3 separate regions of the Homo sapiens genome follow, and all the other regions are linked to region 1. Evidence: promoter capture Hi-C in human tissues and cell types (Jung and others, 2019). All regions are on one chromosome and are shown on one strand. The core of a region is centred on a gene start or on the middle of the fragment in contact, and the rest is flanking DNA. Distances in the headings are between cores, read along the strand shown. Region 1 holds the start of KLHL20 (kelch like family member 20). Region 2 has its middle 92 kb from the start of FASLG. Region 3 has its middle 150 kb from the start of FASLG.

Region 1 (4,969 bases), core at 1,072-3,571:
GGTATATGCAAGAATTTACATTGTAGCACTGTTTGTAATGGAGAAAACTGGAAATAGTCAAAATATCCATCTGCAGAAAAAAATGTTTTAAAAAATCTATGGTATATTCATATAATAGAATACTATAAAGCAGTGAAAATAAATAAATTAGTGCAGTAGTTCTCAAATTTTACCATGCACTATAATCACCTGGAGAACTTGTTAGAACACAGATTACTGGGGCCCACCTTCAGTTTTTGATTCAATAGGTCTGTAATGGGGCTCAAGGGTTAGCATTTTCCAAGTGATGTTGATGCTGCTGGTCCAGGACAACACTTTGAGAATCACTGAATTGGACCTTCATTGATCAACATGGACAAATCTTACAAACAGAATGTTGAGTGGAAAATGGAAGTTGCAAAAGAATACATATGCTTTGATACCATTTATGAAAAGTTTTAAAATATGGAAAAGAAATCATTTTACTGCATATGTATATATATCACATATACACATGCAGTAAAAATTTTCAATAAGATCACAAAGCTAGTCAGTTACAGGTCTAGGATTTGTACCTATGTGTATCCGTGAAATCGCCTTTGCAAACTGAAACCCCCTTTGCAAAAATTCTATCAGTGAGAAAATTATAGCAGTGGAGGAGATCTGATCTAGCCAAACCCCATCTTGCCTTTAGCTTTCAGTCTGTCCTTAATTATTCCTGGGCTTAAGCCAAGATAACTTTGGGAGACATTTAGTTTAATAGTTTAAATAATTACAGTCCTTCCCCAAAACTCAATTGCCTTTGTAAAGCTAATGAGAGACCACCAGACAACGGGGATAGATGAGCCTGAATTCTGTTAAGTGTAGACATAAGTGATTGCCAGCCATTATTCCAGAGGTCACAAGATATGCAACTTCCCCAATTACTCCTACAGATAACATCACTATTGTAGAATCTAGGATTGGCCTTTTTGGGTATATTTTTAAGTTTTTTGCATGTTTGACTACTGATGGCTCCACCTGGACCCACCAACTGTTCCTGTGGCTCCACCCAGAAACAACTCAGTAGGCAGGAGGACCATCTCCCATACCCCTATGACTGCACCAGTCAGCAGCAAGCACCCATTGCCTAGCCACCCCTACCCCTTTCCCCAGACTACCTTTGAAAAGAAACCTAGCCCCCAAATGCTCCAGGAGGCCGATTTGAGTAATAATATAACTGATTTGAGTAATAATAAAACTTCTTCCATTTTTCCACTCGATGTTGTGTAAAACTCTTTCTCCATTGCAATCCCTATACCTTGATAAATCATCTGTATCTGGGCAGCAGGCAAGAAGAATCCACTGGGCCACTATATCTGGATCTAAAGGCCATGTATTTTCCACTACAAGCTAATTAACAAGAGGTATCCTTTCCCCTCAGAAACAACTGGACACACCTGTGTAGATTCTACATAAAGAACAGCTAAAGAAAATCTGGTTAATACTTAGCCTAGTATACTTACCAGGAAATCAGCAACAGTCTTTCTCTGATATTCCTGAAATTGTAATCCCCACCTTACACTTGTATCACTTGTTTTCTAAATATTAATATACGGTAAAAATCAGGTGGCTGTGTGCTATGGGAAAATCTGGAGGAAAAGATAATTTTAAAAATATACTTTTTTGGCTCTGCTTGCTACTGAAAAAAAATTTTTTTAAGAAAATATACTCTTCCCTCCTTAACATTAAAGTGAATCCACAGAAGATGTGTTTGGTGAAGTGTCTGGTGGTGAATACTAAGTAGAAAGGGCAGACTAACACAGCCTTAGAGCCTGGATAAAATCCTGGTGTCCTGAAAGTTTGACCGTGGGAAATCTGGAGGATAAGGTCTATCTCTGGTCTGTCTATCTAACTTCTGCACCTTGCACATAGTAGAGGCCTGACAGATACATGCCAACCCATGTGTGCATGCAATAATTCAATCCACAATTAGGAACATTGTGCCAAAAGGAGACCCACCAACTAAAAAGAAATACAAATTCTTAGCTTTCTGTGACTACCCTTTACTGCCTTTGCTGGCGAAAACAAAGAAGAAAAGAGGAGGCTTCAGTATTCAAATACTGCCAGTTCCGCAGTGAATTCTAAAAATGGTTACTCTTGGGATACAAGGAACCCCCACGAGGATAAACAACCTCTGAGGTTACCTGAATGCCCCAGCAAAGGGCACGACTACTTCCGGAGCCGCACCGGAACCCCTTGGCGGATTATGTGGGTTCCTGCGGGAACGATTTAAGAATAGGACTACTTCCTGCTTCTGGATATGGGCCGGTGAAGGGAAAGGAAATAGCTCTACGAGCGGCATCCTGCCTGCGTTAGCGGCGGTGGAGGAGGAGGCAGAGAGGAGTGGAGGGCGGAGTAGACGGAGGAGGCTGCTGCAGAGAAGAAAGTGTCAGAGCCGGTAAGTGAGCCAGTCACCTTAGAGCAGGGGACAGCGGACAGCGCCCCAGGGCTCGCTTCGCAGATATGTGGTCCCAAGTTGCTGAGCTGCCCCATGGGGTCAGGTCGGTCGCCTGTCAGTCGGCGCCGAGAAGAGACTGTTGGGGCGCTGGGGCCGGGCCTCGCGGAGCGCCAGAGTGCGCTCTCGCTGGCTGACAGCCTATCTCGGGAGCCAGAGGAGGCCCCGGGCTTTGTCCTGCCTGGTGGTGCTGGGGTTTCGCATCCTGGACAGCTTCCCCAGACAGTGTTTGGAATTCAGGGAAGGAAGAAAGTACGTGCGCCCCCATTTAACCCTCGGGACCTGGCGAAATCCTGCTACGTGGGTAGTGAACATTGTATCGGGGACTGAAGGAAATGCTTGTAAAGAGTGTTAGTCTGGAGCCATACTTTCCCTGCCCTGTTCAAGCTCCCTGGACTGTCGGAAGCGGAGTTGTTTGTAAAGGCAAATGCAGACGCCTCCTCCTCCTGTCACTTCGGGACAAGTTAACAATCTTCAGATTCGTTATTAAAGCCTCGTGTACCCTATGTGATCTATCAGGTTAGTACTGCTGTGGGTATCTGGTGCTTGTTCTGTAAATATACTTGATGTCGAGATCACAGTTAAATATCTCCAAGCACTTTTTGAAGAGAAACAAGACTGACCTAACAGTCGGGACTATTTAGCATACTTTCCCTCACCTTTACTTTAATCGTTTTAGCATGCAGAGTAAGGATGGTAATCTTAAATGTACTAGATTAAGTTATTGTGCATCTGCAGAAGGCCTGTGGTATAATAGGATATGAAACTCTTGATAACTGACGAAATGAGTGAAATGATTATATAAAGATTGTTACTGTAAAGATCAGAAATAGCTTTTATTAAGTTCCTGCTTTTCTGTTGTCTTAGGTTCGGCTTTAGAGTGTGGTGAAGGGTACTTTTCATGGTGCATGGAAGGAAAGCCAATGCGCAGGTAGGCATTTAGGAAGAAAACCTTTGGTTTCACTGATTAAAATTCAGCATGTAATAATTTAAATTTTTAAAAAAGAGTTTCAATCTTACTAAATTCTGCTTGGAACTAATGAGTCTTGTTCTACAATAAATCAAAAGTAATATTAAGAATTAATAGCTTTTTAATAGAATAAAATACAGAAGTTGTTTCTGAAAAGTGCTGTGGATTGTATGTAGTGCTAAACACTTAAATTTTCCTTTTTTCATGTTTTTTACAGTAAATAATCATTAAGTTCATTATGATACTATATGGATTTATTATAATCTTCAGTTCCCTATAAAATGTAGAGGATTCTGTTCCCATGTAAGAATCATAATTATTTATAATATACTGTACTGCATGCCTAATTATGGTTTTGGTTATTTCCTTGATGTTCAATCATACATTTGTTCTGTTAATTAAAATAGCTGCATTGTAGGGAAGATTGTATAAGGACTAAAATAGGTATTAGACATAATAACTTAGTCCATAGAAAAATAGAACAATGTCTGGGAAAATATAGACAATAAATAGGCCCTCCCAACCCTAGAATTTAATAATGTTTTTTCTCATTTTGTTCTAACAAATGAGACTAGAATCTTTATGATACAAAATCATCCCAGTTCTATTTCTTTGGTTTTTACATTTGTTTTCTATTTATTGAACTCTATTTAATCATTTGTTATTTAACATCAAAGATAAACAACTTCTGCAGTTCTTTTAAGAGAAGAAACATTTTATAATGGGAATATGACTTATAACTCAGAACTTGGAGCAAGAACCAGAATGTATATCTTTATCCAAATCTGTTATTGGTTTATCAATTGACCTTGAGCTGTTCACCTTCTCTGTACCCCAGTTTACTTCTTTAGTGTATCTGATCAGGATATTGGGGATTAATGAACATTTGCAAATGCTTTAAGATCTCCAGATGAAAAGATGTTATCAAGATGAAAAATACCATTATCTTATTTATATTTTACTCTGTAGTAGGAATAATATTTTACCACAATGTACATGAAAAAATTAACAACATAATATTAAATACTTCATCCCTTTACTTCTAACATTATTGCAAAACCCACTGATTGTGTCTCATCTCCAGCTACCATAAAATGTCATATCTTATATAATTGCTAAAATAAGAGCTTATTATTTTTTAAAAGAATAGCAGAGTGTGGGAATGTTTTTGGTTTATCAGTAGTCTATATAAAATATTTGCTTAATCACTCATACCTGCTCCTTTTTTCTTGCTTTATTACATAATACTGTCAGCTATTCAGAATCATGCTGGATAATTCTAGTGCTGTTAATCGTTAAGCTACGGCTCTTTCTTCATCACTGTCACTTGGCCAGAGCCTAGCCTACTCACATTGGTCTCTGGTCTTACTTTCACCTGCTTCCTACATTCAATCATGGTCACACTTCCCTATCCTTTTCTTATTGGGCTGTCATTTTTGCTGATTTAACCCAGAAGGCAGTCTCTGTAATGCTGGGTTTATACTCAGTTGCTATTAAAGAAGCTTTGAGAAGTAACTTTTTAT
Region 2 (4,969 bases), core at 1,102-3,601, 960 kb before region 1:
CTTAAAACACGCCTGCAAACCCTCCAGCCCTCAGATCATGGGTCTAGACGTGTTGGGATGTTGGCTGTACTCTTGAAGGTGGTTCACACGGAGAGTCTTTTAGGCCTTTGGAAAGGGATGTCCCCTTCCGTTGTGAGATGTGTCCCTGGCGTTGGAATCTACTTTGGCACTCTCTAGTCTTTGAAGCGGTATTTCTTGCGAGGCCATCCCCCAACCGCCCTGGAGTCAATCATGCTGGGGGTGGGCTCTCTCTCTGTTGCAGGGGTCTGTATGTTACCCATCACTGTAATCAAGATGTGCTATGAGAGTGGGAAATATGGCTATGAGAGTATCTACGCTGCCGTGAGGAGCATCTATCGCAGTGAGGGGCACCGGGGCCTCTTCAGTGGCCTGACAGCAACTCTCCTTCGAGATATGCCCTTTTCAGGAAACTACCTGATGTTTTACAACCAGACCAAAAACATAGTGCCCCATGACCAGGTGGATGCAACCTTTATTCCTATTACAAATTTCAGCTGTGGGATATTTGCTGGTATTCTCGCCTCACTGGTAACTCAACCTGCGGATGTTATCAAAACTCATATGCAGCTTTACCCACTGAAGTTTCAATGGATTGGCCAAGCAGTGACACTTACTTTCAAAGACTATGGACTACGTGGCTTCTTCCAAGGTGGCATCCCCCGAGCCCTCTGCAGAACTCTAATGGCAGCAATGGCGTAGATGGTGTATGAAGAGATGATGGCCAAGATGGGCCTGAAGTCCTGACCAAGAGAGGACTGGGAAAGGGTGAAATCTATTGCCCTGCTTGGTTTCTGCCAAGGGCTGCTGCTGCTTACTATTCTGCAGTAAGATGAAGTCCTACCTGGAAAACCAGGCAGAAATTGTGTTGCCTTTGCCTTCGGTAATCCCTTTAAGGAGAAAAATATATGGACCTGATTTGAGCCTTCACAATCTCCAAAAGAGGAGTCACCAATACATAGAACACACTGGGGTGTTAGGAGAGAGTTTTGCATACCCTGAGAGGCTACTTGGAAAGGCATTTTCCCAGGAGAGCTCTGTCAGGTGGCTGCGCTTCTGGCCCACACCTACACCACAGGGTCTCCTTGGGTACGTTCTTGGGCAAGGAATCACAAAGCCAGAGAAGCTGTAAGCTGCCTGCCGGGCCTGAGGAGCTCCAGCCAGGGAGGACTGGATGTGAGGAGAGGAGTCACTGTTACCAGGTCACAGACTGACTGAGGTGATGGTAGGATGAGGAGGAATAGATGCCATTCTTTAATTGGTTCTCAGTCAACTTCTCAGAGGCTCTGGGGAACGGGACAGTGGCTTTCTAGCCTCTGAATGTCCAAATAAAATTTTTTGGTCTTGGCCCCTGTATTGTTTCACCTCTAAATTCTGGCATTTTTTTTTTCCCTGCAATTAAAGTGCTTTACTTTAAAAAAAAAAAGTTTCTAGAGTAGCTCAGAGAAGCAACTAGAAATCTAGAAGACAAGACTTCAATCAAAAGACAGTCACCACACTTCCGTCAGGCTGGTGCAAGAGCTGTGTACTTGTCTGATTCTCAGAGAAGAGAATGAAGGTTCTTTAAAAAAATATTTTAAGGACATGTCTATGCATATATACAATATATTTTTTAAACTTTTAAGTTCAGGGGTACATGTGAAGGTTCATTATATAGGTAAACTTGTGTCATGGGAGTTTGTTGTATAGATTATTTCATCACCCAAGTATTAAGCCTAGTACCCTTTAGTTATTTTTCCTGATCCTCTCCCTTGTCCAAACCTCTACTCTCCGATAGGCCCCAGTGTGTGTTGTTCCACTCGATGTGTCTGTGTGTTCTCATCATTTAGCTCCTATTTATAAGTGAGATTATGCAGCATTTAGTTTTCTGGAGAATGGGGTTTCTTAATCTTCTGTTATGTAAATCCCCTTGGCCATAGGGTGAAGCCTATGAACCTTTTCTCAGAATAATATTTTAAAATGTATAAAGCAAAGTGCATGGGATTACCAAGGAAACCAATTCTACTGAAATATGGTTATCAAAATAGTAAAAAATCCCAAATATATGCTATTGCAATATATGTGCTTCCTTATTAAAGCATTAAATAACATTAACTGGTGGGTCTAATTATTAACGTAACTTCAGTAGTGATGAGCATAAATACATCTTGGTTATCCACAAGCTCTGTAGCTTACAATATCTGCAATGAGTGTTAGAAATATTACGATATCTGTAATTTCAACCAGTGACAAGGTCACAATTACTGCTTATACAGCTGTGGTTAGTTTAATGCCTACATTCATAATTAAAGAATATTCCAAGTTTCAGTTTGCAGTTAGTGAAAATAAAGTCATATATTTTTTTCTACTCATTTTAATGGATTTCTTTGAATTTTATTTATAGGCTACAGGTTAAGAGCCCCAATTTTAGACTGTGAACTTCTTGAAGGGGAAATTTTTGCTTTATTCACTTTTGCACTCATGTTATCTCTATTTATATAAGTGCTGTGTGTCCTTTTACTATTAGTAAGTGACATATTTCTTCTTCCGAGCACTTATGCAAATATCTGAAAATTGGGGCAAGAGATCCCAAACACGGTGCAGATTACCAATCACAAAGATGATTCTTGGGTTATCTTTGTGCAGAAAAACCCACTCACCTCATTCTACAGCCATACACTTTATTCCTCTTCCCAACCACACTAGCGAAATTCTGTGGAGCAATCACCCATAGGGTTCTACCACAGGACCTGGCTGCTCTTCTGGACTACATGGACAGCCATTTCTTTAATATTGTCTTCTGCAAGAACTTGGATTTTACGATAGCAATTGTCTACCTAACCTTCCCGGAGGAAAGAAAATTCACGCCTTTCCAGAAAGTCACAATTATTTTCTCATCTCTCTGTCATTTTAATTGCTTTATTGGAGAGTTTCTTTCTGTCATCCATTGGTTCATGTTCAGCTAGTCAGCCTTCCAGCTGACTATAATTTCTTGTTTTACAATCAGGTTAAATTTGAATTGAGCAATTTGTACTTGGTAAATATTCAAGAAAAGTTATTATGCTAACATTATTGAAGAACTTCTTGTTGAATTAAAGTGTTGTTTGTCCCTTTGATATCCCACATGTCTGGTACTTGGATTCTTAGATCTGCAGCTGTGATGCTTTAACTCTCATGCCCTGTTTCACAATTTATTGACTTCATTTAATAGTTGAGAGAAAATGAGGACTGAAAGTGATTTATCAGATGGGATATTTCTTCTATTTACCTCATTCCTGCCATCTATATCTCATTACGAAATATGGAAAGTAAAGAAATACAATGTGAAATATCAAAATGTATTATAAGGAAAATCTCTTTAAACTATATGGTCAATAAAATCAGTAACAACAACAAAAAGATCTCACAATGACATGAGCTTTGAAAAGCTATTGGATGTTACTGAATACTTTTCATCTTATTGATCAAAACATCCTCCTGAAAGAATAAGTTTCTTTGAAATCAGAAAATTAAGCCAGAAAATTCATTCTTCCTGTTCCATTCCACTTATTTCACAAACATTTCTTTTCTCATTGTCTAGACACAAAGAGCCGCTGTTAGAGGATTCTGAGGAGTTTAAACTGCTGAGAATTTGATCACATAACTGTTTGGAATTACCACAACTCCGAGGTGTATCAGGGATTGTTATACGTCTTGAAGAGACAAGGAAACTGAGGCACAGAAAATGAAAAATGACTTGTTAAAGTCATCTATCTATTAATTGTCAACAGCAGAATTAGAATTCTACGTTTCCGAACTTCTATCCAATTGTCTTTTAAAAGGGCAGGCACGGCCAGGTGCGGTGGCTCATGCCTGTAATCCCAGCACTTCGGGAGGCTGAGGTGGGTGGATCATGAGGTCAGGAGATCGAGACCATCCTGGCTAACATGGTGAAACTCTGTCTCTACTAAAAATACAAAAAAAAAAATTAGCCAGGTGTGGTGGCCGGCGCCTGTAGTCCCAGCTACTCGGAAGGCTGAGACAGGAGAATGGCGTGAACCGGGAAGGCAGAGCTTGCAGTGAGCTGAGATCATGCCACTGCACTCCAGCCTGGGGGACAGAGCGAGACTCCGTCAAAAAAAAAAAAGGGCAGGCGCAAATCCATATTTATAGTAAAGTAACTTTCGCAGATTGTGCCTCTATAGTCTCCTTTTCAAAATTTTTTTTTCAGTTTTTCTAAAACCAGCTATTTATTCACTATGAATTCATTTCCCCCCGCCCCAGGAAGAGCACTAGCCATCAGTTCTAACTTGGAAAGCTGAGCCTAAGCTTGCTCTCTTTGGTCATTCTGGAGCAGTTGGTGCAGACTTTAGTTTTCCTCCAGTGAAAATAGAATTCATTTCAGATGAATTGTCTATTTCTTCAAGAAATTCCTGTGTAACTTTGCTAAGTATTTATTGAGCAGGTGCTATATGTAGAACCTTGCACTTCCACTCATTTGGAGGACTGGGATGTATAACTTAAGCTATTCTTAAGGGCTTTTAAGCCAAACAGACATCCTGGTCTTTTTCCTGGGAAAGGAACTACAGAGTTTCCAGACACAGTGATCTGAAACACTTCCGAGACATAAGCTGCTTTTGAGAGATGGCCTCGTAGAAAGAAAAGTTGACCTACTCTTTCAACACATTGTCTGCAAGTCTGTTTTTGTTCATTCCAATCACTTCATGTGAGCAAAGGATGAACTGAATTCTTGTCCTCTAGGAATAATTGTTTAAATAAAGAAGGTTTTATTGTTTTTTCTTTTCCTCTTCCTTTCTTCCTTCTTTTCTCTCATTATTTTATTTTTCCCAAGAATGTTAATTGAGGTTAGAACCAAAGAACAGAGATAGGATATGAATAAAACATGGTTTTTGCCCGAAGGAGATAGACATGTCATAAGTTACAATGTAATATTTTTTTCTGTAATAAGGATATCTGTAAAATTTAATGGCAG
Region 3 (4,969 bases), core at 834-3,333, 910 kb before region 1:
GGAGAACGGCAGCATAAGCAGCTGGCAGAAGCAGCAGAAAGGAAATAGAGAAAGAGACAGAAAGAGAGAGAGGAAGAAACAGAGAGACAAAGAGAAGGAGACAGAGAGAGGAAAAGACACAGACAAAGGAGTCAGAGAGAGAGAGGAAGAGACAGACAAAGTCAAAGAAGAAAAGAGAGGAAGAGACAAAGAGGGAGTCAGAGAGAGACAGACAGACAAAGAAGAAGTCAAAGAGAAAGAAGGAGAGTTGGAAGTAGTAAAGAAAAAACAGTGTATTGTATTCCTTTAAAAACCAGGGTAAATTTAAAACCTATAATTGATAATTTAAGGTCTTCTCCATATCCCTATAGCACTCCAATACCACCTTGTTGTCAGTGTAAACAAGGGCATAGCCTGAAAGCACTGAGGCCACTGACAACCCATAGCCTTCCTATCAAAAATCCTTAACCCAGCAGGTTTCCTAACAGGGGATCTAAATCTTAATTAATTACCATACAAAGGTCCAACCAGATCTAGGAGGAACTCCCTTCAGGACAGGATGATAGATGGCTCCTCCCAGGCAATTAAGGAAAAAAGACACAATGGGTATTCAGTAAGTGATAAGGAAACTCTTGTAGAATCAGAGTTAGGAAAATTGCCTAATAATTGGTCTGCTCAAACCTGCAAGCTGTTTGCACTCAGCCAAACTTTAAAGTACTTACAGAATCAGGAAGGAGCCATCTATATCAATTCTAAGTTAATATGGACTGAATGAGGTCTTATTAATAGCAAAAAATAATTGAAATCCCAAACTTACAAGGTTTTCAACAAAAGTAAAGTTTGCTAAAAGAGTTAACAGTGTAACATGTATTATCCTAACTTCTAATCTTATGGAAATCAGACCTTATCAGTGCCCCTGAAAGCTCAAGTCCATCAGCACAGAGCCATACAACTAATACCCCCACTTACATGGTTTTAGGAATGGCCACTGCTACAGGAACTGGAATAGCTTGTTTATCTACTTCATTATCTTACTACCACACACTCTCAGAGGATTTCTCAGACAGTTTGCAAGAAACAATGGAATCTATCCTTACTCTATGATCCCAAATAGACTCTTTGGCAGCAGTGACTCTCCAAAACCACCAAGGCTTAGACCGCCTCACTGCTGAGAAAGGAGGACTCTGTGCCTTCTTAGGGGAAGAGAGTGTTGTTTTTACACTAACCAGTCATGGATAGTAAGAGATGCCACCCGGTGTTTACAGGAAAAGACTTCTGAAATCAGACAACGCCTTTCAAACTCTTATACCAACCTCTGGAGTTGGGCAACATGGCTTCTTCCCTTCCTAGGTCCCGTGACAGCCATCTTACTATTACTCACCTTCAGGACCTGTATTTTTAACTTCCTTGTCAAATTTGTTTCCTCTAGGATCAAGGCCATCAAGCTACAGATGGTCTTACAAATGGAACCCCAAATGAGCTCAACTAACAACTTCTACCAAGGACCCCTGGACTGACCTGCTGGCCCTTTCACTGGCCTAAAGAGTTCCCCTCTGGAGGACACTACAATTGTAGGGCCCCTTCTTCGCCCCTATCCAGCAGGAAGTAGCTACAGTAGTCATCGCCCAATTCCCAACAGCAGTTGGGGTGTCCTGTTTAGAGGGGGGATTGAGAGGTGAAGCCAGCTGGGCTTCTGGGTCGGGTGGGGACTTGGAAAACTTTTCTGTCTAGCTAAAGGATTGTAAATGCACCCATCAGCACTCTGTAAAAAATGCACCAATCAGCACTCTGTGTCTATCTAAAGGTTTGTAAACGCACCAATTAGCACTCTGTAAAAATGCACCAATCAGTGCTCTGTGTCTAGCTAAAGGTTTGTAAATGCACCAATCAGCACTCTGTAAAAATGGGCCAATCAGCACTCTGTAAAATGGACCAATCAGCAGGATGTGGGCAGGGCCAAATAAGGGAGTAAAAGCTGGCCTCTCAAGCCAGCAGCAGCAACCTGCTCAGGTCCCCTTCCACACTGTGGAAGCATTGTTCTTTCACTCTTCACAATAAATCTTGCTGCTGCTCACTCTTTGGGTCTGCACTACCTTTATGAGCTGTAACACTCACTGTGAAGGTCTGCAGCTTCACTCCTAAAGTCAGCAAGACCACAAACCCACCGGGAGGAACAAACAACTCTGGACCACCACCTTTAAGAGCTATAACACTCACTGTGAAGGTCTGCAGCTTCACTCCTGAAGTCAAGTGAGACCACGAACCCACTGAAAGGAGGAAACTCCAGACACATCTGAACATCTGAAGGAACAAACTCCAGACACACCATCTTTAAGAACTGTAACACTCACTGCGAGGGTCCACAGCTTCACTCTTGAAGTTAGCGAGACCAAGAACCCACTGGAAGGGACCAATTCTGTACACAATTACGTTGGACAATTCCAACATAGCAAGAAAAGTCAAGAGTACAGAATCAAGTTATACTGGAGGAAAGCATTGCTTTTCTAGGACTTCAAGATAAACATTTCAGCATCAGGTTAGAATAGCAGAGTTAGAAGAGGAGAAAAAAGTCACAGGAACTGGCATAAAGGTTGAAGGAGAGTTATTATCCAAGCCAAACAAAAATATACACCTTTTTTTTCTTTTTGAGATGGAGTCTGGCTCTGTCACTTAGGCTGGAGTGCAGTGGCCTGATCTTAGCTCACTGCAACCTCTGCCTCCCCGGTTCATGGAATTCTCCTGCCTCCACCTCCCGAGTAGCTGGGATTACAGGCATGCACCACCATGCCCGGCTAATTGTTTGTATTTAGTAGATACGGAATTTCACCATGTTGGCCAGGCTGTTCTTGAACTCCTGACCTCAGGTGATCCACCCGCCTTGGCCTCCCAAAGTGCTGGGATTACAGGTGTGAGCCACCATGCCTGGCCAAAATATACGACTTTTTAAGGGGAGGAAGGAGAGCTGAAGGCAATTATGCATAACTGCAAAATACATGCAGCAAGATACAGCAAGAGGTGAGCCTCTGAAATATGAATTTGAGAAATTTCAAGGGGAAAACTACCTTGAGAAATGAAATTACCATTCCATGAAACTATCATTTCTTAGTTAAACCTGAACTGGAAAAATTAAATAGATTTCAGAAAAAAATGTGTCAAAAATAGAAACTGTCTGCAGTTTAGAGGGTAGCTGTTAAAGAAACAGATTTTATAATTTATAATCAAGACCAGCTGGGCACGGTGGCTCACATCTGTAATCCCAGCACTTTGGGAGGTTGAAGCAGGCAGATTAGCTGAGGTCAGGAGTTTGAGACCAGCTTGGTCAATGTGGTGAAGCCTTATATCTACTAAAAATACAAAATTAGCTGTGCATGTTGGCATGCACCTGTAGTCCCAGCTACTCGGGAGGCTCAGGCAGGAGAATTGCTTGAACCTAGGAGGCAGACGTTGCAGCGAGCCAAGATCACACTATTGCACTCCAGCCTGGTGACAGTGTGAGACTCTGTCTCAAAAAAAAAAAAAGTTATTTTTAAAATGAAAAACACATCTTACTTTTTGGTACAATTTGTGTATAGAATTACATACATTAATTAGAATTTCAACTCTTAGTATCTTTAACTTTAGTAGAAATCAAGGAAGCAAGAAATGTTTAAATGTCTCTCACATGTCATTATTTAATAGATAAGAATCATTTTATAGTTTTTAAGCACATGGTTTTCCATAACATAATTTTTATGTATATTAATAAATCCTAATATATTTAGTCTTCCCATAAAATTTAAGAAGCCAAGAATAAACTTATATTTATGTCCAGTAATGTGTTTCTGGTTTTAAAAATCCTATGTGACAATGACCCAGACAATTAATCAGCATCTATTATTTAATTTAACATAACTTTGAGATTTCATATTATGTAAAAAGTTTATTTATAAATGTTTATCCCATTTACATTTACCTAATTTATTTATTTTAGGCAATTCATCAATTGAGTATACAAACTGAAATATTAGACAAAGCTAGAATCTTTTCAAATTATTTCTGTGTCAACAATTTTTATAGCTTATGAGTATCAGGTGTTCACCTAAGTAAGAGCCTCAAATTTAACTCAGAAGATAGAGGTATTTTTATTAAACCAATAATATTAACTTAGTCTTACTTATTAAAGAGTTGCACAAATAGAGTCATTCTATTTTAGGTTGGTTTTATAGTTTTATAAACTTTGTGACAAACATTGATATCTTAAGACATCTAGGAGAGACATATATAAGAATGTTTGATCAGTAAACCCAGGCAAAAATATATGCTGACAATTTAAAGATATCTCTATTTTTATTTTACTAATAATTTTTAAACCAGCTTATTTATTAAGAATTTACTAAAGTTGTGTGAAATTGAAGGCATTTGGTTGAATTAGTGTACATTTTATATGAGTGTTCATTTATGTAAACCAATCCTTTTTTACTTTTTTTTTTTTGAACTGTTAGACTTTTTTTTTTTAATTAAACTTTAAGTTTTAGGGTACATGTACACATTCTGCAGGTTACTTACATATGTATACATGTGCCATGCTGGTGCACTGCACCCACTAACTCGTCATCTAGCATTAAGTATATCTCCCAATGTTATCCCTCCCCTCTCCCCCCACCCCACAACAGTTCCCAGAGTGTGATGTTCCTCTTCCTGTGTCCATGTGATCTCACTGTTCCATTCCCACCTATGAGTGAGAATATGCGGTGTTTGGTTTTTTGTTCTTGTGATAGTTTACTGACAATGATGATTTCCAATTTCATCCATGTCCCTACAAAGGACATGAAATCATCATTTTTTATGGCTGCATAGTATTCCATGGTGTATATGTGCCACATTTTCTTAATCCAGTCTATAGTGGTTGGACATTTGGGTTGGTTCCAAGTCTTTGCTATTGTGAATAATGCCTCAATAAACATACGTGTCCAGGTGTCTTTATAGCAGCATGATTTATAGTCCTTTGGGT

Evidence for each region. The method cuts DNA at HindIII sites, captures the fragments that hold promoters and counts their contacts. A contact is called where the count stands out against the background at its distance.
Region 2: a fragment that was not itself captured here is called in contact with the fragment with the promoter of KLHL20 in region 1 in 1 of the 25 tissues and cell types used here (aorta).
Region 3: a fragment that was not itself captured here is called in contact with the fragment with the promoter of KLHL20 in region 1 in 1 of the 25 tissues and cell types used here (mesendoderm cells).

The regions. Positions count from the first base shown.
Region 1 is chr1:173,712,660-173,717,628 of GRCh38, forward strand. KLHL20 (kelch like family member 20) reads left to right here and starts at 2,322. Exons shown (of 12, transcript NM_014458.4): 1 at 2,322-2,419; 2 at 3,344-3,407. The coding sequence starts at 3,385. It also overlaps a transcript of ANKRD45 not described here. RefSeq lists enhancers at 2,226-2,415, 2,496-2,865. The HindIII fragment of the contact is 13,268 bases long and covers 1-4,969 here.
Region 2 is chr1:172,748,738-172,753,706 of GRCh38, forward strand. It overlaps the pseudogene SLC25A38P1. Among named protein-coding and RNA genes, the nearest start is that of FASLG, 92 kb to the left of the region's middle. The HindIII fragment of the contact is 6,733 bases long and covers 1-4,969 here.
Region 3 is chr1:172,802,017-172,806,985 of GRCh38, forward strand. No RefSeq gene overlaps it. Among named protein-coding and RNA genes, the nearest start is that of FASLG, 150 kb to the left of the region's middle. The HindIII fragment of the contact is 8,961 bases long and covers 1-4,969 here.